6 separate regions of the Homo sapiens genome follow, and regions 1, 2, 4, 5 and 6 are each linked to region 3. The links are contacts of gene promoters, found by promoter capture Hi-C in blood cells and fetal thymus (Javierre and others, 2016). All regions are on one chromosome and are shown on one strand. Each heading gives the region's core, a stretch centred on a gene start or on the middle of the fragment in contact. The rest is flanking DNA. Distances are from core to core; before and after follow the strand shown.

Region 1 (3,745 bases), core at 532-3,031, 350 kb before region 3:
GACTGTCTTGGGGGAAGGTAAAGTCACTTTCATCTGAGAACTTTGTACAATGTTTACATTTTTTCTCATATTTGTGTATTACTTTTTTAGCTGTCAAAAGAAAATATTTAAATTCTTTAAAAAGCTCTCTAGGGACATATTTTAAGTAAAGAAAAGAAACTAATGGACAACCTGTACAGTGTACCATTTAGGTAAAAGAACACATAGAAACTGAATTATATTCTTGTTTTTATGTATGTACATAAATTCATGGCAACATCCCTGAAGGATGCCCACCTGCCAGTGGGTTCTTCTGAGAAGAGGCAGATTGTAATGAGATCATCTGAACATGTGACAAACTATTTGTGGGGAACTCACAATTTTTAAATCTTACCTTTGAAAAATAAGGTGAAAGTTTGTCACGATAAGAAAGTGAACGTCTATTTCAATGAAAAGAAGTGACATGAAAAATCCTGGTATATTTCACTGTATCATTCTCTAATTTATACACACTTAAGTTTATTTAAATATCACACATTTGTACCATAAGAATGCGTTTTAACAAGTGATTTTTTATTCTTTAGCCACAATTCTCCCACATTTTTACATTATCCCTTTTTTCCATATTTTTTAAACATTAGATACATAATTTGTTAGAAGTTAAAAGGGAAAAACATTTTTTTCTGAATCATATCACATTATATTTAGCTTAAAGATTATTAACTTTTTGAATATCAAAAATTGAAGCTGCTGGGAATCACATTTATTTGTAGGTCCCAAAATAGCCCTGAGGTCTGAATAGGAAAATATCTTTTATAAACTATAACAAAACTCTCACCTCAAAATAAAACACTATGAAATTTACACAGTTATATCTGTACTCAGTATCTTTACAATATCCAGAAACCTACTGGATTATTAGAAATGACAATGCAAATAGGTTTACATTCAGAAAAAAAGAGAGCTTATACTAAGAGGACCTAACTTGAAACCTGGCACCCTGTGCAGGAATCTGTTCAATCCTTAGAACGGTCATAAAGTCATCTTTGTTAAAAACACAGGTCCTTGGACACCCCCAAATGTCGGGCAGAACAAAGAGAATTCCAGTACATTGGCTTTTAATGTTCATCTGAATGGGGTATTATTTTCAAATTCAGTCGGATGCCCCAAAGGCTCACGGGCTTGCTGGTCATATTTCTGGGCCTGTCATCGCCTTTTGCGGTTTTCATCAGGTGTATCCATAGCTGTGTAGTTCTAAATCAGCTTCTAGAACTTCTGCTCAAAAACTGGTGTTAAGGTGCCTCCATACCTACCTCCTCAAACTTCTTAAAGCATCAGGCCAACACGGACCATTGCTTTGATGGAAAGTTTCGTGGGGTTTTTTTTTTTCTTATTTAAAAACAATAGAGGGGTGTAGTATTATGACAAAACTAGTTCCCTCAAAAACTGAACTGTGTTAGCATTGATTAGAGTGTCTAATACATAGGCAGACTTGGGGAAATACCAGGGCTTCCTCAGGATATGGTGTTGATTCTGACGGTAACCTGCAGCCAAATGTCAAGGGCCATAGGCTGAATGCCTGGGGAGCTCTTCCAGGGGTAAAGAATCCTCTTGGGCCTGGGCCCCTCCAGGCAGCCAAGATAGGGCAGAGGCAGAGAGATGGCCCAGACCTGGCCAAATGGGTTCTATATGAGCCGCCTTTCAATAAAGACCTGGGCTGTGATGACCCCAGCCGTGTTCTGTGCCACAGCGGGCGGAGTGCTCACAGTGGGTCCTCGGGCCATGTGAGACCCCACTGAGTACACTGAACAACACGCCATCAAAGCAGGTTCCATCTGACACTGCCTGGGGCCCACAGCCAAGCTACAGCAGCATCGTAACCTTTGCCAGCACAAAGCCCAGTGTCCCTTTAGTTCATCTGGATGTATGAGTACACATACATGTGCTCGCCCGTGCACACACTCACAGCTTAGTGTACACTGTCCACATTGGCACTGCCTGCTGCCAAGGGCTGTGCCTTTTATCAAGTCTTAGTCAGGCTGGGTCAGCGTGAGGAAATTGTGTATGCAACACCGGCTTTCAGCTGAGTCGCTTGAAAATAAGTCAAAACAATCCAGGTACTGTGTGTTTCTTTTTCCTGTCTCTTTCAAAAACAACCTCCAGAGGAGTTTTTTTAGCCACTTATTTAAAATGTTAATGAAGGAACCTGTGAGTGCAAGGGCACAGAAATAAGCAGCTGACTCGAGTTATACCAGCGCATAAACAAGTTCCAAATGCACCGAGAGGCGTGGAGGGAAGATGCAAGCAGTGTCTTGAGAGGAACTGCTTTTGTTGTAAGCTCTCGGCAGCTCCCAGCATGACCGCTGCAATGGCATTCATCCCACTGCAGTTGTCATCAATGGGACTTTATTGTTTTAGAAAGATCTGTCATGGTCAGGGTCCCACCTGTCCTTCCCTGGACCGTGGCCCTCCAGGCAGTCCCATGCAGGTGCCGGCTGAAAGCGGCTGGGGTAGAAACCAAGGACCAGGCTGGAAGAAACAGGGCCCCCAGGTGTTTCCAAAGGGGAGCGCCGATTGCCAGGTGCAGAATCCACACAGTTACCCACCGTGGGAGGTGGAGGGACCTGGGCAAATCCCCGGGAAATGTGTTAGAATTTCCCCAAATACTGCAAAAGCGAAAAAGTGCTCGCGCTTTATCATGTGAAAGACTAGTAGTGTCCAGGAGCTGACACAGCACAGGGGGACTCTGACCACCGCAGGAACAGCGAGCTGTGTCAGGACGGAAATGAGCAAGCCTGCGTCTCCGGCGCACCTGGGGAAAGAGTAGTGCAGGGTGCACATCAGGGCTGTGACTCACTCCGCAGAGCACACTTGAGTCCCCAGGGTAAGGATGAACGGACAGCCTTCCCACGTCATGTAGTGTGGCCGGTGGGGCTGGGGGGAGTGTAGTGCTCTTGGAGGCGGGCTACCAGGGATGTGGCAGACCCACTTTTCAGGTCCCATTCATTTCCTCTCTGGGATACGTTTCATCATAATCACTCGGTACGCACGATTCTTCCCAACAGCCTGAAAACAGCAGGCTTTGCATCCTTTTCAGGCCTAGGGTCTGGCCCTATGCCAGGGGCTTCTGTTTCACTCACAACAGCCTCGTCTCCGCTCCTGAGACCTGGTCACCGCCAACAGCAGGGAGAGAAGCGGGCAGAGGGGCCTAGCACGGCCCTCCTGCATCCATAAATCCTATTTTCCAACCAACATCACAAACTCTCTCTCTCCTGCTCCCAGGAGGAGCCTCTTGCCTCAGGAGTGGCCACACTGAGATGACAAAGCCATTACAATTCTGATCTCCATAGTCCTGAGGTCTCCAGTGCTGCCAGGAGTCTGTCAGGAGGAGCCTGAGAGGAAGGAAGATGTCCACGATGTTCCCAAGTGCGGCCAAGGGGCAGCCTCTGCACATCGAGTAATTCCAGATGAATGGCTCCGTGCTGTTCCCTCCTCTTTTCTGGTGAGTTTAGTGCTGGGCTGACTGTAGAACACTTTATTCACAGAAGCAAGTAGAAAAAATTGTCACTCTTAGTTCACGTGCTCCAACGTCAGACCGGGAGCGGCCGGTTCTGGAGGGAAGAGCGAGGACTGGCCTATCTGTATTCTCATCAGCCGCCTCCATGCACACGGAGGTGCATTTCATTGTTGTTGATACACACGTTCCATCCAGAAGAGGCAACTCAGAGGGACTGAAGCAACTTCACACCTACCCCAAAGCCATTTC
Region 2 (3,391 bases), core at 878-3,377, 420 kb before region 3:
CACCCGCAGGGCTCTCAGTAGAGAAAGATTCTCCCCACCAGGGCTCTCAATAGAGAAAGATTCCCCCCACCAGGGCTCTCAGTACAGAAAGATTCCCCCCCACTAGGGCTCTCAATAGAGAAAGATTCCCCCCACCAGGGCTCTCAGTACAGAAAGATTCCCCCTCACTAGGGCTCTCAGTAGAGAAAGATTCCCCCTCACTAGGGCTCTCAGTAGAGAAAGATTCCCCCCACCAGGGCTCTCAGTCCAGAAAGATTCCCCCCCACTAGGGCTCTCAATAGAGAAAGATTCCCTCCACCAGGGCTCTCAGTACAGAAAGATTCCCCCCCACCAGGGCTCTCAATAGAGAAAGATTCCCCCCACCATGGCTCTCAGTACAGAAAGATTCCCCCTCACTAGGGCTCTCAGTAGAGAAAGATTCCCCCTCACTAGGGCTCTCAGTAGAGAAAGATTCCCCCCACCAGGGCTCTCAGTAGAGAAAGATTTCCCCCCCACCAGGGCTCTCAATAGAGAAGGATTCCCCCCACCAGGGCTCTCAATAGAGAAGGATTCCCCCTACCAGGGCTCTCAGTAGAGAAAGATTCCCCCCACCAGGGCTCTCAGTACAGAAAGATTCCCCCTCACTAGGGCTCTCAATAGAGAAAGATTCCCCCCCACCAGGGCTCTCAGTAGAGAAAGATTCCCCCCTACCAGGGCTCTCAATAGAGAAAGATTCCCCCCGACCCGGGCTCTCAGTACAGAAAGATTCCCCCTGACCCGGGCTCTCAGTACAGAAAGATTCCCCCTACCAGGGCTCTCAATAGAGAAAGATTCCCCCCGACCCGGTCTCTCAGTACAGAAAGATTGCCCCAACCAGGGTTCTCAGTAGAGAAAAATTCTTCTCGACCAGGGCTCTCAGTAGAGAAAGATTCCCCCCCACCGGGGCTCTCAGTCCCCCACTCTTGTAGTAGATTTGTATAGGACAGGGTTTCGTGTCCTCATAATTTTTTCAGCAGCAGCCCTTAGCTGTTTTCCCTGGCACGCACATCTGAGCATCCACTCGCTGCACGTGGGCATTTGCTTATTCCCCTGATGTCTGTAAGTGCCTCGTCTGTGCCAGGTACTCTACACAGTGGGGACACATTAGTGAGCAAAACAAAATCCCTCTTCTCACAGGGCAGCCATGCCACTGGGAACAACAGATGATAAGCACATGGACAGCTGAAGATGAGCTGTGGCAAGTAGACTTAGCAATGCTGCAAAGAAAGCACAGAAGGCAAGGGGCAGTGAAGGGTCTTTATCTCCTGAGAAAACCGCCTGTGAGGACAGCCTGATTGAATTTTCGTAACCACCATTAATGGTAGCCAAGGCCTTCTGCAGAATGCATGTGGAAAGAGGAAATGAAGACAGATGCTAGGGTAGCTGTCCCAGGACACAGCTGTGCAGGCAGGGTCCTCGTGGGCCCACAAGTGCATGCTGGAGCTCGCCAGGCAGGCTCTGGCAGTTCCTGGATGTCTGAGCACTTCTGCTTCACTGTTAACTTGGGGTCGCCGTAAGGATGAATTTTCTGTTAAGGGGAACTGGAGTAGCATCTCTGTGGACATGGCTTCAGGATGTATGGGCAAGCCTGAGGCTAAGGATCCTGCAAACTAGGCACGATCAAGAGTGTTTGGTGTGCTAGTCAGAATGTGGTTGGCTGTAGTTGCTCTGGCATTCTAGGTAGGGACAACCGAAGAAAGAACACTGGAAAATAGGGGACATCTTTGGTATTCCAAGAATTTGACAAAACCTCTAACTAGATCACTTTGAATTTATCTAAGTCAGGAATAAAGAAGATTATAAATGACATCTGTTGAGCATTCCTTTGTAGCAGTTTCAGAGTGATAATGAAATTTAGGGCAATCTTGGCCAATCTAAATTAAGAGAAGTAATTGCTGTTTACTTTTTGGGGGAGCATCGTGGGAGGTAGGAAATGAAGGGGAGGGAAGCTAAGATGATGGAGTAGAAATACACATGTTCTGATATGGGTGCCTATTTTCAAAGATGGTGGTGGGGTATAAAGTTTGTTTGATTATAAGAGCATGAATTCATTGCATTTATCTAACATTCCTACCTACAGAACAGCAGAGCATGACCTCTGTAGCTAAGGTTAACTTTCAGCTATACCTGGCTTCAGTGGAAAGTGGGCATGAGGGAATTGTTTTGACATTTTTGAAACCTACACTCTTTGTGGGAAAAGGGTTGTTGATACCCTGCAATATTAAATAAGTTCCGTGGGTTGAGAAAAAAACTAGGACAATTAACAACATGGATGTTGTCAATTAACATGCTGTTTAATTAACATGAGAAAGTTGATACTCTTTGAACCTAAAAGAGCACATAGAATTTCGATAGGTGGAAATATGGTGAATCTGTACTGGTTGGGGGAACAGCATCAATGTTCATTTTGAAAAAAGCAGAATAAATGATGTCATTGATTCTGGGGATGGGGCTGACTGGCCCTCTCCCCCTGCCTCTTCCTCTCCGCATCTCTCCCCCCAATTCATTCACACTTTGACACAAGGGTGCCACGTAGGGGTATCTCTCCAGACCTTCTTCGTGGGTTAGCCCCTCAGCCCCCTGTCCAGTGCTGTGGTCGTGATCGAAAGTTGTATCTAAGGCAAGACATGTTTTTCCTAGTGTGTGATTAATTTGAACCCAGGAGTTTGGTGATTGTATCTGTTTACTTGGACTTACTGGAAGGTCAAGTTTTCTCAAGAACATTAACAAATCAGTAAAATTATCAATTAGTAGCACTGCTTTAATTTCTTAAACTCAGAATTGACTTGTCCATACATCCGTTTATATTTAATTTCCCTGAAGCTCTGAAAATAGGGCAAAAGAACATAGTCTTGGTCCATCAGAGGTCTTCTTTTTTGTCTTTTTGGCCTATCCTTTGGGCTCAGTCTAAATCTTTCCCCCAGGATTTTAAGTAACTCCACACTTAAGGTTTCTAAAAAGTAGCAGTGATAGCTGAAAACCTAATACAGACTGAAAATGAATGGGAAGTTCATATAAATCAGTCATAAACACATCAAATTCCCAGTGAATTCAAAAGAAGATGAACAAATAATTCTCAAAAGAATAAATATTTGTAAACAAATATTAGTAAATAAATACAAAAAAATAGCATTTCACTTTCTGATATCCAGGAAAAAAAAGTAAGTTACAACCGCCTTCATGTTCTTTTCTTTGCCTGTTAATCATAGACAGTCAGCCTTCTGTATCTGTGGGTTCTGCATCCAAGGGTTCAACCCACGGCAGAGTCACCCAACTGTGAACTGAAAATATTCAGGAAAAAAATGGATGATTGCATCTGTACTGAACAGGTACAGACTTTTTTTTCTTGTCACTGTTCCCCAAACAATACAGG
Region 3 (3,553 bases), core at 601-3,100:
TTTAAAAAATCCCTAACCACTATTTTAGAGAAATTCCAAGCCCATAAAATAATTCAACTGCAGATGTTTCAGACTGGGTTTTGAAAGATCCTGTCTGAAAGAAAATTAGTGTATCTCTAGAAGGAAAACACTGTTTTAGTCCGTTTGGGCTGCTATAACAAAAACACCAGGCTGGGCGAGGTGGCTCATGCCTGTAATCCCAGCACTTTGGGAGGCCGAGGCCAGTGAATCACCTGAAGTCAGGTGTTTGAGACCATCCTTACCAACATGGTGAAACCCCATCTCCACTAAAAATACAAAAAGTAGCTGGGCATGGTGGTACATGTCTGTAGTCTCAGCTACTCAGGAGGCTGAGGCAGGAGAATTGCTTGAACCCGAGAGGCGGAGGTTGCAGAGAGCCGAGATGGGACCACTGCACTCCAGCCTGGGCGACACAGCGAGACTCTGTCTCAAAAACAGCAACAGCAACAACAACAACAAAAACATCATAGATAGACTTGGGTAGCTTAAACAACATTTATTTCTTATAGTTCTGGAAGTTGGAAGTCTGGGATGGGCCAGCAGGATTGGGTTCTTGGTGAGTATCCTCTTCCTGGCATACAGATGAGGAAGCAAGCTCCCTTGCCTCTTTTTGTAACGGCACAAATCCCATTCTTGGGGGCTCCACCCTCATGACCTAAGCATCTCCCAAAGGCCCCGCCTCCAAATACCACCATGGGCGGGGTGGTTAGGATTTCAACGTACAAATTTTGGAGGGGACACAAACATTCAGTCCATAACAACACCTTTGCAGTGGGGATGGCAGGAAGTGCGGCCACCACGGTGCAATGGCTTTTTAATGTGCCCATTTGTCCAGGCTGAGCTATATTCCTAGAATTCCCTTTTCCTGTATGTTTCCAGTTTGAGTGAGCCACAGGGGTGTGCTTCTGCAGCCAAGTTGAAGCTGTTGTCATAACCTTGGGCAGATGACCAGAGAAAATACGAAGGAGGCAAGTATGAAACGTGTATTAATTTCTTTTTTAAAAAAAGGCTTAATTTGGGGCTGGGGCCGGGTGCGGCGGCTCACGCCTGTAATCTCGGCAGTTTGGGAGGCCGAAGCAGGTGGAACACTTGAGGTCAGGAGTTCGAGACCAGCCTGGCCAACACGGTAAAACTCCGTCTCTATTGAAAACACAAAAATTAGCTGGGCGTGGTGGCGCGTGCCTATAATCCCAGCTACTGGGGAAGCTGAGGCAGGAGAATCACTTGAATCCGGGAGGTGGAGGTTGCAGTGAGGTTGAGGTTGAGATCGTGCCACTGCACTCCAGCCTCGGCAACAGGGTTAGACTCCATCTCAAAAAAAAAAAAAAAAAAAAAAAAAATTGTGGCTGGGCATGGTGGCTCACACCTGTAATCCCAGCACTTTGGGAGGCTGAAGGGGAGGATCACTTGAAGCCAGGAGTTCGAGGCTCCAGTGATCTATGATTGTGTCACTGCACTCCAGCCTGGGTGACAGAATAAGACCCTATCTCTAAAATAAAATAAAATAAAATAAAATAAAATAAAATAAAATAAACAAAAAATAGCTTAATTTGTATTTACAACAGAAGTTACTTGTCTTGGAAGCCAGGCACGCACGTAAATCTCACAGAAGGCTGGCTGTCTTCCTTCTCCTGGCCTCCCTGCCTCCTCCCTCAAGGCTGCCTGATTCTCTTCTCCCTTCCTCTCTGCGGTTCCCTCCCTCCCACCCCCTCTCCCTGCACCTTTCTTTATCTTGGAGCCTCTCCCATCTCTCCCTCCCTCTTCCTCCCTACCCCACCCTCCGACCACCCCACTTCTTCCCCTCCCCTCACACTTCCCTCCCTCCCTTCTCTCGTCTCCTCCCCACTGCGCCTCCCTCCCTCCTGGCCTTCCTTCCCTTCCCCGACTTTGCAGATTTCTCTTCCCCCAGGCCTCCCTCCTCCACCTCTCCGCCCCCTCCGGGCTTGGCTCTCCCAGGAGGCTACGACTGGAGCCACTGGTCCCGCAGGATCCCCGCGTCCTCGGTCGCCGCGTCCACGTCCCTCTCGCGTCCCCGCCCGGCGCCACGCCGCCTCCTCTGGGTTCGGCCTCCGCGCGGTGCAGCGCAGTCTCAGGCCGCGGGACAAGGTACGTGCGCGTCCCCGGGGCACACAAGCCCACACAAGCCCGGGCCCCGCTCCTCTGAACTCCCGCGTGTGTTCTGACTATGGCAAAGAAGGTCTTTGCCGCGTGCACGGGTAAGGAACTTCCCATAGTCCGTTTTCAGAAGCTGACTTTCATAAAAGTGATACGTTGTCCTTGCAGAACAGCAGCCTCCACGATCCCATGCGTCCGAAGCAGCCGCTGTTTACATTTTGGTATTTTCCTGTAGGTGTTTCGCCATGCATTTTAAAGACATAGTGGAAATCACACCGTATGCAAACTTGCGTTCGTTTTGGCCATTTAGCACGGAGGAGCCTTTCCACCATGCCGTTAAATACTCCTTGTAACTCTCTTCCTGCAGTGAGACATTCTGGTTGTAGCGTTTTTACTAATATAAAACTATTAAAAAACTGAGCATATTTGCAACTAAATCAGCATCCACATTCGACAGCTTTTCTTTAGGGTGGGTATTAAGAAGAGAGGTGCTGGGTCTATGGATCTAAGAGTGGGACATCCTAAATGCTGGGTAGGTGTGCCAGGAACGACTGGACAGTTTACACCCCACAGCCATGTGGGTCGGGCAGGCCTTGGAAACACTGGGCACTGAGATTTATGTCCACTTGCTGATGGAAGATGCCACCTGTTGTTTTCAAAGCCCATTTAAAATAAAGTGGTTAGTAATGAGCCTCGCCGGTATCCGGGGAATCCTGTCCAGGCCTGGGAACCCTATCCAGGCCTAGGAACAGCCAGAGAAAAAGCAGATTCTGCAGGGGCGTCGTTGGCATGTCTAAGAGGGCCATTGTGGGCTCATCCAGGTAGCTTCCTAATTCATGCTATCTCGACCATAGACACTTGGAAAATACAAGCATGGCTGCTGAAAAATAAATATTTGGAGAAGTTTGATGTTTGTAGAATCATCTAAGGATAAGTACTGGCCCTGCCTTCCCTGCTGCAAGATTGAAAATCACTTGCCATGCAAGTTCCTACAATGTTTAAGCAGTAAAGGAGAAACCTCCTGCCTTTCCCATTAGACCCCACTTTCCTGTGTTGTCTTGGGGTCCTCTGTAACCCTGAGCCCTGGATGCACTTCCACGTGGTTTCTATTTCTAAATTTCTAAAGCTTCCAGAAATGTATTCCTCCCTTCTCTCCTCTCCTCCCCGCTGCGCCTCCCTCCCTCCTGGCCTTCCCTTCCCCTACTTTGCAGACCTCTCTTCCCCCAGACCTCCCTCCTCCTCCTCTCTGCCCCCTCCGGGCTCAGGCTCTCCCAGGAGGCTGGAGATGTATTCCTAGACTTCCCTGCTTGTTATAATCCCAACTGCACCAGTCCCTTTTGCTTGTCAAAATCTGTTTTCTCTATTTCTGTTGGAGAACTGCGTTGTGCCTGGAAGTCTGACTTGTGAGTTATTTGAA
Region 4 (3,683 bases), core at 189-2,688, 310 kb before region 3:
CAAATCCCCACCTTCTAATGCATCACATTGGGAGTTGGGGTTTTAACATATGAATTTGAGGGGGAGGACATAAACATTCAGTCCATAACATCACCTTATAGAAAAGATAACCCACAACATTATATTCTATTGCCTTATAGGATATTAACCAGTTTTGCATCTATTAGCAGATGTATTTCAGCATTTGTGATTGCCTCTATGTGCCTGTTCTTCAAATTTCCTTTGAACTGGCCTTAACTAATTACTAGCCCATCACTAATTAATGAGTTTTCACTTTCTGTCCACCTAAGAGTCAAATTTTTAAGCTTTTGAAAATTATCCTTTAGTATCACCACTTTGTGCACATTTGTCGTAGGACAGGAAAATGGGTAAATGCATTGTGATTGCTGCAAACCAGGTTTCTTGCCGACAAAGAATGGGGGAAGCATATGGAAAGGGTGAAGAGGAGGAATACTATGGTGTTGCATTTGGATTGGAGGTATCCTTATTTTTTAAATATTTTTTTTTCTAACTCTGCTCACTGAAATGCCTAGAAGCAATAACATTTAGTGTGAATGAGCACAGCTAGAGTCCAGATTTTGGTTTCTAAATACCATTCCTCACTAAAAAAAGAACTATCATTCCTTGAAGATACAGCTGGTTACAGACAGGGACTGGGAAAGTCCAGGGAGAATGTGGAACACTTTGGTGTGCCATAAATCAAGAAAATACTCAAAACTGACAGAAATATGACAAAAGGACACTGGAGCCATCTTCAGGGTTACCAACTGGCTGGGTTTGGGATAACTTCAGCACTGAAAAGAACAAAGGCGTTATTGAAGTAGAACACACGAGATTTTTAAAAAATGAGTAATGGTACCAAAAAAAGGGTGGGGCTAAAGGAAAGCTCTTCTTTATAGAAAAATATCAGATAATAAGTGTAAAATAAATGATTCAGAAAAGGATTATCAATGGCAAAAACTGGTGGGGAAACAGGATATTCATACAATCTCTAAGTATCACCTTGCAGATTACTTACTAATTACAGAGGGGAAATATCTGCCTTTAAAATGGAGAAATGTAAGCAGTTCGTCAAATTTAGCATCACCCACACCAGGACACACTGGCAGTATGTGTCCTGATAGGACACACCAAGGACATATCATGGCCAATGCCATATTCTTGCCAAAAATATACGATGTGCTCCTGACTCTGAAGAAACAATCATGGGTGAATATAAAATCAAAACACCTGCAAACAGGCAAGACTCTGGAAAGCACCTCATGGGTATCAAAGCACAGCTATTATCTCTAACGCACAAAGAGCTCTGGCAGATCAGTAAGAAAAGAAATCCCCTCTTATCGTACATTCTCATATTGTCATGACCTAATCCTTGTCCCAGCTCTCACCAGCAACACCTGTCCCTCATCTGTATTTCTAGCAGGGACCAGATTTTGGAGCTCCTTCTCTTCCTGACTTGCCATGGAGACCTCTTTACTTAGAGGTCTCAGAGCATTTCAAAGTCATGATAGCCAGCTCAAAACCAATGTTCCTCCCATTCATCTTCTTTTACTTATATGCCCTTTGCAGTTGGTGTTATCCCCTGTCCCAAAGCCCAAAGCCATCCTAGACCCCCAGCTCTCCTCCATGGCCCGCATCACCACCACCGCCAACTGTGTTTCTAGCCACACAGCTCCCGGCCCTTCCCTGTGCTCTGAGCCCTCTGCTACGCCCCTGGGATCCTCTCACCCCTGTCACCACTCACGCAGCCTCACGCTACTGAAATACATTCCCTTGCATTGGGCTTAGACCCTTAATGGTCTGGTCCCCATCCTTCCCTCATCTCTCCTAGACACACGCCATCCTACAGCCATGCCCACCTACACTGTCCCTAAGACTCGCCATTCCTGAGAACTGCCCGGCTCCCTCTCAGCCCCAGCTCAAATCCCCTTCTTGCAAGACCTTATCATGAACTTCAGGCTAGATAGAGTGTTCTCATCCCACAGCACCAAGCTCCGGCAGACAGATGGTGCTGGGCTTCGTGTGTTTCTCTGTCCCATGAGCTGCAGAATTACTCAAGGACGGGGCTGCCCTGCACTTCTGTATCCTTGGTCCCTGACATGGCAGCTGGCCCACGAGAGGAAACGAATCACTGAATGCCTTACAAAGCCCTTTCACACTCTTGCTAGGTTTTCAAAGCCTGGAACCCTCCATGGAAGTGATGCCTCACGCTTCGAAACCTGAGGAGGTGAACACATGTTAGCACAGCCCCTGGCCCTTTCTAAGTTTGAAGAGTTCCCCCACTCTATTCGTCTTGATTGAAAAGTAGGGTGCCCAGACCACTCCCACCACAGGGGATGAAACTGTCAAACACTGGTTTTCCAGCCTCCCTGGCCCCCCACCCATCAGATCCACCCAGGGTGGCTTTGGTCCAGGAGCTTGTGAAGCAACAAGGGACAAGGAGGTCTCCTTTTGGTGACAGCAACAGCCATTTCCCAACCAGAATCAACATACAGTGTGGTCGGGGGCACTTCCTCCAGTTTCCAGGCCCTGAGTGGGATTCTCAACAACCCGACAACCGTGTAAGCTTCCCCTCCTTCCTTCAACACACAAGCGCCTGTTCTTCCTGGCTCAGCTGCAGGCAGCTTCTTTGCTTGCAACTGAGAACTTGACCGATGAAACAGACAGAATCTTTGGAGGCAAAGAAATGTGAAAGGGGTCAGTGATAAACCTGGTCAAGACCACTGTTCCAAATGAAGTGTGATTATGAAGAGGCAAGCATAGGTTTCATGTCTGTCCTCAAAAAAATGTCTGGATACAGTTCCAAAGCAGGAGAGTCGCAATGCACTTGGCAATATTGACATAAGCACTGTCTTCTTGATGACTGATGGGCTGAGGGCCACATGCTTGGATACCCGCTCACAAGATGCTCCCACTGACTTCATCTCAGCTTGTTACACGGATACTCTAACAGCTCTCAGAAACAGTTCCTGGCGTTTCTTTAACTCTACAGGTGAAGTGCAAAGTCACCTTCTACACGTGTCTACTTTCATGATTAACTATCACTGAGACACATGATTGTGTCTCTTCCACTGGTGGGTCTGCCAGCCTCGTGCCACCCCCAGTCTTCGGGAGCAGGATGGAGTGTGAGGCTTCAGGTGAAGCGGTGACAAGGGTGGCTTTCTGGTACAGATTCATATTCAAAAACTTTGGGCAGTATCGGAGCTTGATCTGCCCATACTGAATTCTGAACAAGTGGGTAAATGCATAGCGTGTGGTCACAGCAATCAGCCCTTCCCTGGCACCCCTTGGTAGCAGGACATGGTCTCTGATCATTTCCATCCTGACTGCATCGCAACGGGAGCCCGGGCTGCCCGGCGGCGGTGCTCTGGCCACGGCTCTGAGAGGAAAGGGGAAAGCCAGCTCTTACCTGCCTGTGCAGCTGTGATTAGGGCTGTGTTCCCCTCGCTGTCCTGCCAGTTGACGTCAACGTGGGGGCACTCTGCTAAGGCCACCACGGTATCCACAAAGCCGTGGTAGCAGGCGACAATAAGGCCGGTCTAGAAATGAAGAGGGGAAGCGGGTCAGAGGGGCAGAGTCGGAGCATGGTGGGTCAGCACTGGGGACCCCGAGGGGCACCCACTACCCTCCAGGGGGCTGGACAAGGCAATGACAGGGACCTGGAGTCCCAATTCTCAGAGATG
Region 5 (3,397 bases), core at 550-3,049, 450 kb before region 3:
GTTGCAGATTTGGCACCTGTAAGCATCTGCATGATAGTCGTCCACAGGCTGCATGTGACTATCTATGGGAAGTCTAGATAGAGAAGAAGGCCAATGCTGAGCCTTGCGATACTCAAATGTTTATAAATCTAGAAGAGGGCGAACTGCCAAGCTGACAGAGTGAGCAGCCAGGGTGGCCAGAGAACTGGAGGGTAAGGCAGTGATGTGGCACCTCCGGAGCAAAGGAGGAGGGGGACGGCCAGCTGCATCAAGTGCTGCTAAGAGCTCAAATAGAATGAAAGTAGAAAATGACCATTGGATCTGGCAGCACATAGGTTATAAGTGACTTCCACAAAAGGACCTCCCATGGTTGAGGGCAGTGCAGCAGAACTTGATGAAAACCAGACAAACTGGACTGGAGGGAGTGACAAGAGATGAGGAGCTCAGCCTCCCTGAACAGTTTTGTTGTCAAAGGGAAAAGTACAGCCAAGCGAGGGGTGGTGTTTCCTTCGCTAAAGAGATTAGGCCTGTCTGAATGCGAATCCAGCAAGGCATTGCGGAAGTTAACAGCAGTTGCAAAACACTGGGGCAGGCGGGAAGAACACGATCCAAGGCACGAGAGCCAGGGGTCAGCCACGGCAACAGGAAGATGATGGTGAAAACCAAAAGTTTCTGAGAGTGGTCTCAATTTAGGAAGTTTATTTTGCCAAGGTTAAGGACGTGCATTGACACAACCTCAGGAGGTTCTGATGACATGTGCCCAGGGTGGCCAGGAAACATCTTGGTTTTATACATTTGAGGGAGACATGAGACATCAATCAATACGTAAGATGTAGGTTGGCTCTTTAGGAGGTAAAATGTGAAGTGGAGGCGTCCGGGTCATAGGTACATTTAAAGGTTTTCTGATTGGCAACTGGTTGAGAGTTATCATCTAAAGACCTGGACTCAGTAGAAGGGAATGTCCGGGTTGCATGAAGGAGTTGTGGAGACCAAGGTGTTATCATGCAGATGAAGCCGGGAATACACTGCAAATGTTTCTTATCAGAGTCCTCTATTAGTCTTAGGGTCTCCGTGCGGATGTTTGTGAGGCCATGTTTGACTTCCGCTTCCCATCAAGGCCTGAACTAGTTTTTCAAGATAACTTAGAAGGCCACAGGCGGAGGGGAGGGTCCATCCGTTGGCTGCAGGGCTTAGAATTTTATTTTTGGTTCATAACGAGGAGGGCAGGGACAGAAGCCACCGTCTCTGCTCCCCAGCGCTGGCCCTCACTCGGAAAGCAGGCTCTCCCCTCGCATCGTCTTTTAACAAATTCCTGCTCTCTCGGCCCCCGTCGCTGCCATCTGGGCTCTCCTTTCCGCGCTTCATTAGGCGCTGCCGCGGCAGGGGCTGAGGGCCTCAGGGGACGGTCGCCTCCCTGCCGGGACGCCCCGGCCCTGGCCCGCACTGTGGGGCGCAGTCACCCAGCCGTCGCCGCGTAGCCAGGAGCCCGGCTGAGCGCGTTCGCTGCAGGAGCCATCCTCAGCTGGGCCCTACTTAACTTTCCGCAACTCCAGTCCCCGCAGCCAGTCGGGGACCCCGCCTCCCTCTCCTTCCTTCTCCCTCTCACTTCTTCACCCCTTCTCTCCCCTCCCTCCTCCGCCCCCGCCCCCGCCCCCGCCCCCGCCCCCGGCCACAGCATCCGACGTGGCGCGGCCGGCTGCGCACGCACCGTATGCTTGGCTCGCGGCCCAGCAGGGCGGGCGGGCCGCGGTGACGTCAGTGCGCATGCCGTCGGTGGGCTCGGCTGCGCCACGTCGGCGCGCGGCGGCCGCGCCCCCTTAACGGCAGTGGCACTCACCCGGCTCGCGCGGCCCCGGCGCCCCACGCGCGCGCGTCGTTCTCCCGCCCGCTCGCTCCCCGGCGCTCACACCTGAGCTCACTCGCGCACGCCCGCCCGGCCCGAGAACCGCGCCGCCGCCTCGGCCCCGCGGAAGCCCCGCCGCGTCATGTCTTCGCCTCCCGAAGGGAAACTAGAGACTAAAGCTGGACACCCGCCCGCCGGTACTGACTCTTTTCCTCTCTCTCCACGCGCGGGTGCCGGGGGCGGGCTCGAACCCGGGGGCGCCGGGCGGGGGCTCCGCGGGGAGGGCCCCGGCGAGCGCTGAGACGGGTTCCGGGCCTTGATGCCCGCCCGAGGGGCGCGGGCCGCGGAGAGGTCGGGCGCCCAGGCCCGGGAGGAGCCCGCCGGAGCTTCGGCCCCGCTTGCCGGCGGCGGCGAAGCGTTTCTTCCTGAGGACCGCGGGCGGCCGCGTACCTGTGCGATTGCGCGCAGGCTCCGGTGCCTTGGGCGAACCCAGTTGCACAACTTATAACAAAGTTTTGGCGGATAATATTTACTTAGAGGATACAGATGTCTAGAAAGAAAGTAGCAGAAGCAATGAAAAGTCAGTGGTGTTAATATCATGGTGATGATTAATTAGAGGCTGCCAGCGTTTCATACCGACTCAAGAACCAAGGAGCGGAAATAATTTTTATCATTAATCACTCAATATGACTTTCACCGCCAGTTTCTTCCACATCCAGATTTTTTTTTTCCCCCAAAGTTGCTTTTTCTGATTTTGAGCAAATCCTAAACTTCTGAGCCAAGGAAGTTAAAGCCAGGAAAGAGCGGTCTTTCTTAGAACATAGGGATCTAAGCAGCCTTCATGCTTCTGCCACCTCCTCCTCTCTCTGGGCACAGTTCCTGTTTGCACTTTGGATTCTGTCCAGACGGGTCTGTTTCCGTTTCTACTCTCCTTTCCAGTGGCAGTCGGCCCATATGGAGGGACACTGGTGAGAAGATCAAAGGCCTTGGGTCTCAGAAGCCAAGTCACTTCAATGTATGGATGCGTGAGGTTCTTTTAGGTCTTAATAGCACGCCTTAGTGTCATAAACTCAGTCTTGTAGGAACAGAAGTCTTTGAGAAACATGGCTTCTTTTGGTGGCACATTTGCGCCATTTTCTTGACAATAAAGATTCCTGGCCAGGCGCGGTGGCTCATGCCTGTAACCCCAGCAGTTTGGGAGGCCAAGGAGGGTGGATCACTTGAGGTCAGGAGTTCAAGACTAGCCTGGATAACATGGTGAAACCCCATCTCTACTAAAAGTAGAAAAATTAGCTGGGCATGGTGGCGGGCGCCTGTAATCCCAGCTATTCAGGAGGCCGAGGCAGGAGAATGGCTTGAACCCGGGAGGCAGAAGTTGTAGTGAGCCAAGATTGAGCCAAAGCACTCCAGCCTTGGCGACAAAGCGAGCGAGACTCCATCTCAAAAAAAAAAAAAAAAAAAAAAAAGATTCCCATTATCCTTCTCTGCTGTCCTCCGCTATAGGGCGGGAATTCTCTGCACCAGCACAATGAATAGGAGCCGTTCTTTAAATATGTTGCAGTCCAGAGTAGGCAA
Region 6 (3,732 bases), core at 709-3,208, 380 kb before region 3:
CCCTTAAGCTCTCAACTGCGAAAGGATGAAGGTATAGATTGCAGCAGCCGTCTGCCTGGTAGGGAACCTCCTGTCCAGCTCTAACTCACAAGAGTGCATCGCTTTACACCTCTCAGAACTGGGGCAGAAACCAGGCTGTCAGAGCACCACGATGATGAGGGAGGGTGTAAAGCCTTAGAACACAAAAGAATGTTAAAAGTCTTCTCAATTTTTATATGAGTTACATGTTGGGGTAGCAGTAACTTGAATATATTGAGTTAAATAGTTGCTGTTTGGGAGTTTAGGGAAGTTTTAAAACTATGAATTTGGGTTTCTCAGCCCTTTCCACATTCCTTTAAAGATGAGACCATCAAACTCAGTCTTGATGATATCTGCATTCCACAGGGTTACTCAGTCACTGAGCGTTTCTGGCATTTTATCCTGTCTGTCTGCAGTTTCCACAGAATGCCAATAAGGTATAAATCTTCATTAAGAAAATTTAGAAAATAAGTAATAGCAAACTTTTGTTAAGGACAAAGGGTCCTTTTAAGAGTTTGATGTGGTCCTTGCCAGATGGACAATAGAGACCCACGTGCACGGACATCAGGTGGCTGCTTAGTCTGGGTGTGAAAAAGCTGCAGTTTCTGCTAGTGTATAGGAAGTGTTATCTGGATTCTAATCCTGGCTAATTCTGCCTGGCTTGCAGTTCTTTTCAATTTAAATAAGTGTAGTTTTTAAAGTCTGGAAAGGCCTGAGGATATGGGGCGGGCAGGGTTGATAGTTTTCACTCTCTGTTTCCTGAGAGAAAATAATGTTGCATCTTCAAAACAGCATCTGTCAGAATGATTTTCATCAGATTAAATAAATCCTCAAAGCAGCTATCATACTTCTTAGACTTGAGAAATGTAGGTTATACTTTGCATGGAAGCCTAATGGCATTTAAAATAGGTGTGTTTTGCATGTACAGCCTTACACCCAGACCTTTGACTGGGGTTTCTCGCTTGTGAGATTTTGTTCAAGCTACCACATCTCAAAGAGTTTAGTAACTGTTTTTACTTTATAAACGTCATAAATAATTATTTGCCAATTTAAGTTGCTGTTAATTATAGTTGGAAAAAAGGATTGGGCTCTGAAGCCTTTGGGCCAAACTTGATGAAAACCTTCAACACAACATACGCTCTGTCACGGGACAAGTTACATGAAAATACATATCGCTGTTAGACATTTTGGAAGAGGCCTGCCTTTTGCCATCTTTTCATGGGCAGCTGCCATATGTCCTTACAGCCAATTATGGCCTTTTCAGTTTTAGAGAAGAATTTTGGGGGCGACTTTTGGTTCATAAAGACCTTTAATGAATGATCAATACAGATTGATATTTATTATTCTGTGGCAGGGAAGCTTATTCTTAAAATTAGTTGCTAAATCTAAACCACAGTACGATACTTCCTCACACCCATTAGAATAGAGCCTTTATCCAAAAAAACAGAATAAAACAAAACAGAAAACAACGAGCGTTGGCAGGGATATGGGGAAATAGGAACCCATGTGCGTTGCTGGTGGGAATCTAAAATGGAACAGCCGCTGTGGAAAACAGGTTGGTGATTCCTCAGAAAGTTAAACACAGAATTACCATATAACCCAGCAATTCCACTTCTGAGTTACACACAAAATAATTGAAAGTAGAAACTCGAGCACATATTTATACACCCACGTCCATAGCTGCACCATTCGCAGCAGTCCAGGTGTCCATCAGCAGATGAATGGATAAGCAGAATGTGGTCTGTCTGTACAGTGGAATGTTATTCAGCCTCAAAAAAGAATTCCCACACATTCTGCAACATAAATGAACCTTGACAATATTATGCTAGATGGAATAAGCCAGACACAAAAAGACAAGTACTGTATGATTCCACTTACATGAGATCCCTAGGGCAGTTAAACTCACGGTGATGGCCAGGGGCTGGGAGGAGGAGAGAATGGGGAGCTAGTGTTTAATGGGGACAGACTTTCTGTTGGGAATGATGAAAAAGTTCTGGAAATAGATAAAGGTGATGATAGCATAATAATATGAATATACTTAATGCCACTGAACTGTATACTTAAAAATGGCTAAAATGGTACATAATTTTTTTGTAATTAGTTGCTGAGCTGGCTGGGGTTTCAAAGCGAAGTTAGAAGGGAGGGAGAGCTTGGACTGTCTTTAGGAAGAACGTTTGCCTTGAGCAGACCAGAGCTAAAGGAGACCCTCAGTCTGGTGTCCTGTCACTTCCCGCCGAGTCGCCTCTTGCGGCTCGATAAGACTTTCTCATGCAACACAATTCTTGAATATTGTGTAAAAAGTGCAGTCTTAAAGCAAGGACCTCGCCTGCGGAAGTGCTGGACACATGGGGTTCTTTTCTTTCAGTGCCTTATTTCTTACCAGTGCCAAACAGATGGGGGCGCTGGAGCACAGCAGTGCAGGATGAAGTCTCAGGCCTTCATGTTGTTCTTCCCCAGGTTAATTAGGTGGAATGCACACTGTTTTGGTTGTGCCCCAAGAGACTGCTCTGACCTAAGCTTGCCACTGAGTGACATTCCCTGTCCCTGCTCCTCAGCTCGGAGTCAGCCCTCAGGGTGTGCACAAGGGCAAGTTCACGGCCTTTCCATCCTGAGTGAGTCCCTTTGACTGCGGCATCAGACCCTCAGTCTTGCCATCACTCAGCCAAGTCGCCAGCACCACATCCAGCAGAATGACTAGCCACTTTGTATAGGATGCAGCACAAAGGACACCAGTCCCTGGCTCATCGCCACACCCGGTGGGCCTCACCTCACCCCTCGCCACCCAGTGGTTGGCAGAGGCACATTTCTTATGCTGAGCCTAGCATGATTTTCATTGACATCCTCTGTCTTTATGAGCAGAATCCACCAAGCCACTAAAGCTCAGCAGATTCAGTCATGACTCAGCACAAAGGAGCTATCTCCGTGAATTTGGGGTTTCACAAGGACAGCGCCATCTGTGAATGACTCCTGTGGACTCTTAGACGCTGCAACCTGCAACCATGGCCCTGGACACTCCTGGAATGAGCTGGGCCTGTGGGGGGAGGGTCATTCTTACTGCTGGGGGTCTCCTTTAGCCCCCAGGGTCTCCATGGCCATTCAGCAGTTGCGATGGGACAGTGTCTTGAGCAGCTCACATGGGAGTGAGGTGCTAAATGTGGGTTTAGGAAAGGAAAGAGCGTGCCCTGGGAGTCAGAGGCTGGTTTCTAGGCCTCAGCTTCCGTGTGTGTTTTCCAGCACTCAGGCTAGAGCAGAGCTGTCATGATCTCATATCATCACTGTTCACACACATTTCTCCGGGTACATACTCGAGGCATAGAACCCCACCCTTGTCGTGATCAATGCAGGAGACGCCCAGAGGACAGCACCTCTGAGGAGCACCGAGGGCAGGGAGGAAGGGCGGGACTGTGGCAGGCCCCTGGGCTCCAGACTCCCGTCCTCAGTGCACACAGGGGACCAGTGCTGGAGACAGATTCCTGATAGCCAGGTCCCCCGAGAGCCTCACGTGGCAGCTACTACACAGTGGGGCTGGGCTCAACCAAGGAGCCTGTCAGGAACACCCAACATGGAGGCCTCTCCAGGCTGGCGCCCTACTGCTGGATGGCGCCTCTGCGTCCTGGAGTTCCACTCCACCTCTGCAAAGGGTGGCGTACTCACAGGGTAGACCACCCTCATTGCTGGGGATCTCCTTTAGCCTCCAGAGTCTCCATGGCCATT

Evidence for each region. Contacts are between HindIII fragments. The CHiCAGO score rates a contact against its expected background, and 5 or more counts as called.
Region 1: a fragment that was not itself captured here is called in contact with the fragment with the promoter of CMBL in region 3 in 1 of 17 cell types (neutrophils); the score reaches 5.6 in neutrophils.
Region 2: a contact is called between a fragment that was not itself captured here and the fragment with the promoter of CMBL in region 3, in 1 of 17 cell types (activated CD4 T cells). The highest score is 5.5, in activated CD4 T cells.
Region 4: a contact is called between a fragment that was not itself captured here and the fragment with the promoter of CMBL in region 3, in 6 of 17 cell types (total CD8 T cells, erythroblasts, neutrophils and 3 more). The highest score is 6.7, in total CD8 T cells.
Region 5: the fragment with the promoter of DAP here is called in contact with the fragment with the promoter of CMBL in region 3 in 12 of 17 cell types (non-activated CD4 T cells, activated CD4 T cells, total CD4 T cells and 9 more); the score reaches 14.4 in non-activated CD4 T cells.
Region 6: a fragment that was not itself captured here is called in contact with the fragment with the promoter of CMBL in region 3 in 1 of 17 cell types (neutrophils); the score reaches 7.4 in neutrophils.

Annotation. Positions count from the first base shown.
Region 1 is chr5:10,654,603-10,658,347 of GRCh38, reverse strand. ANKRD33B (ankyrin repeat domain 33B) reads right to left here. Exons shown (of 4, transcript NM_001164440.2): 4 at 532-3,745. Among named protein-coding and RNA genes, the nearest start is that of ANKRD33B, 92 kb to the right of the region's middle. RefSeq lists an enhancer at 1,267-2,215. The HindIII fragment of the contact is 7,367 bases long and covers 1-3,745 here.
Region 2 is chr5:10,727,941-10,731,331 of GRCh38, reverse strand. The region is part of intron 2 of DAP (death associated protein); the gene reads left to right. Among named protein-coding and RNA genes, the nearest start is that of DAP-DT, 31 kb to the left of the region's middle. RefSeq lists an enhancer at 1-347. The HindIII fragment of the contact is 5,093 bases long and covers 1-3,391 here.
Region 3 is chr5:10,306,199-10,309,751 of GRCh38, reverse strand. It overlaps CMBL (carboxymethylenebutenolidase homolog), which reads left to right and starts at 1,850. Exons shown (of 6, transcript NM_138809.4): 1 at 1,850-2,127. RefSeq lists an enhancer at 2,072-2,572. The HindIII fragment of the contact is 4,286 bases long and covers 1-3,264 here.
Region 4 is chr5:10,618,189-10,621,871 of GRCh38, reverse strand. It overlaps ANKRD33B (ankyrin repeat domain 33B), which reads right to left. Exons shown (of 4, transcript NM_001164440.2): 2 at 3,410-3,539. Among named protein-coding and RNA genes, the nearest start is that of ANKRD33B, 56 kb to the right of the region's middle. The HindIII fragment of the contact is 2,261 bases long and covers 308-2,568 here.
Region 5 is chr5:10,759,636-10,763,032 of GRCh38, reverse strand. DAP (death associated protein) reads left to right here and starts at 1,799. Exons shown (of 4, transcript NM_004394.3): 1 at 1,799-2,019. The coding sequence starts at 1,965. DAP-DT (DAP divergent transcript) reads right to left here and starts at 1,997. Exons shown (of 3, transcript NR_187555.1): 1 at 1,817-1,997. RefSeq lists silencers at 1,264-1,733, 1,814-2,243 and an enhancer at 896-1,741. The HindIII fragment of the contact is 9,246 bases long and covers 1-3,397 here.
Region 6 is chr5:10,688,700-10,692,431 of GRCh38, reverse strand. The region is part of intron 2 of DAP (death associated protein); the gene reads left to right. Among named protein-coding and RNA genes, the nearest start is that of DAP-DT, 70 kb to the left of the region's middle. The HindIII fragment of the contact is 1,158 bases long and covers 1,380-2,537 here.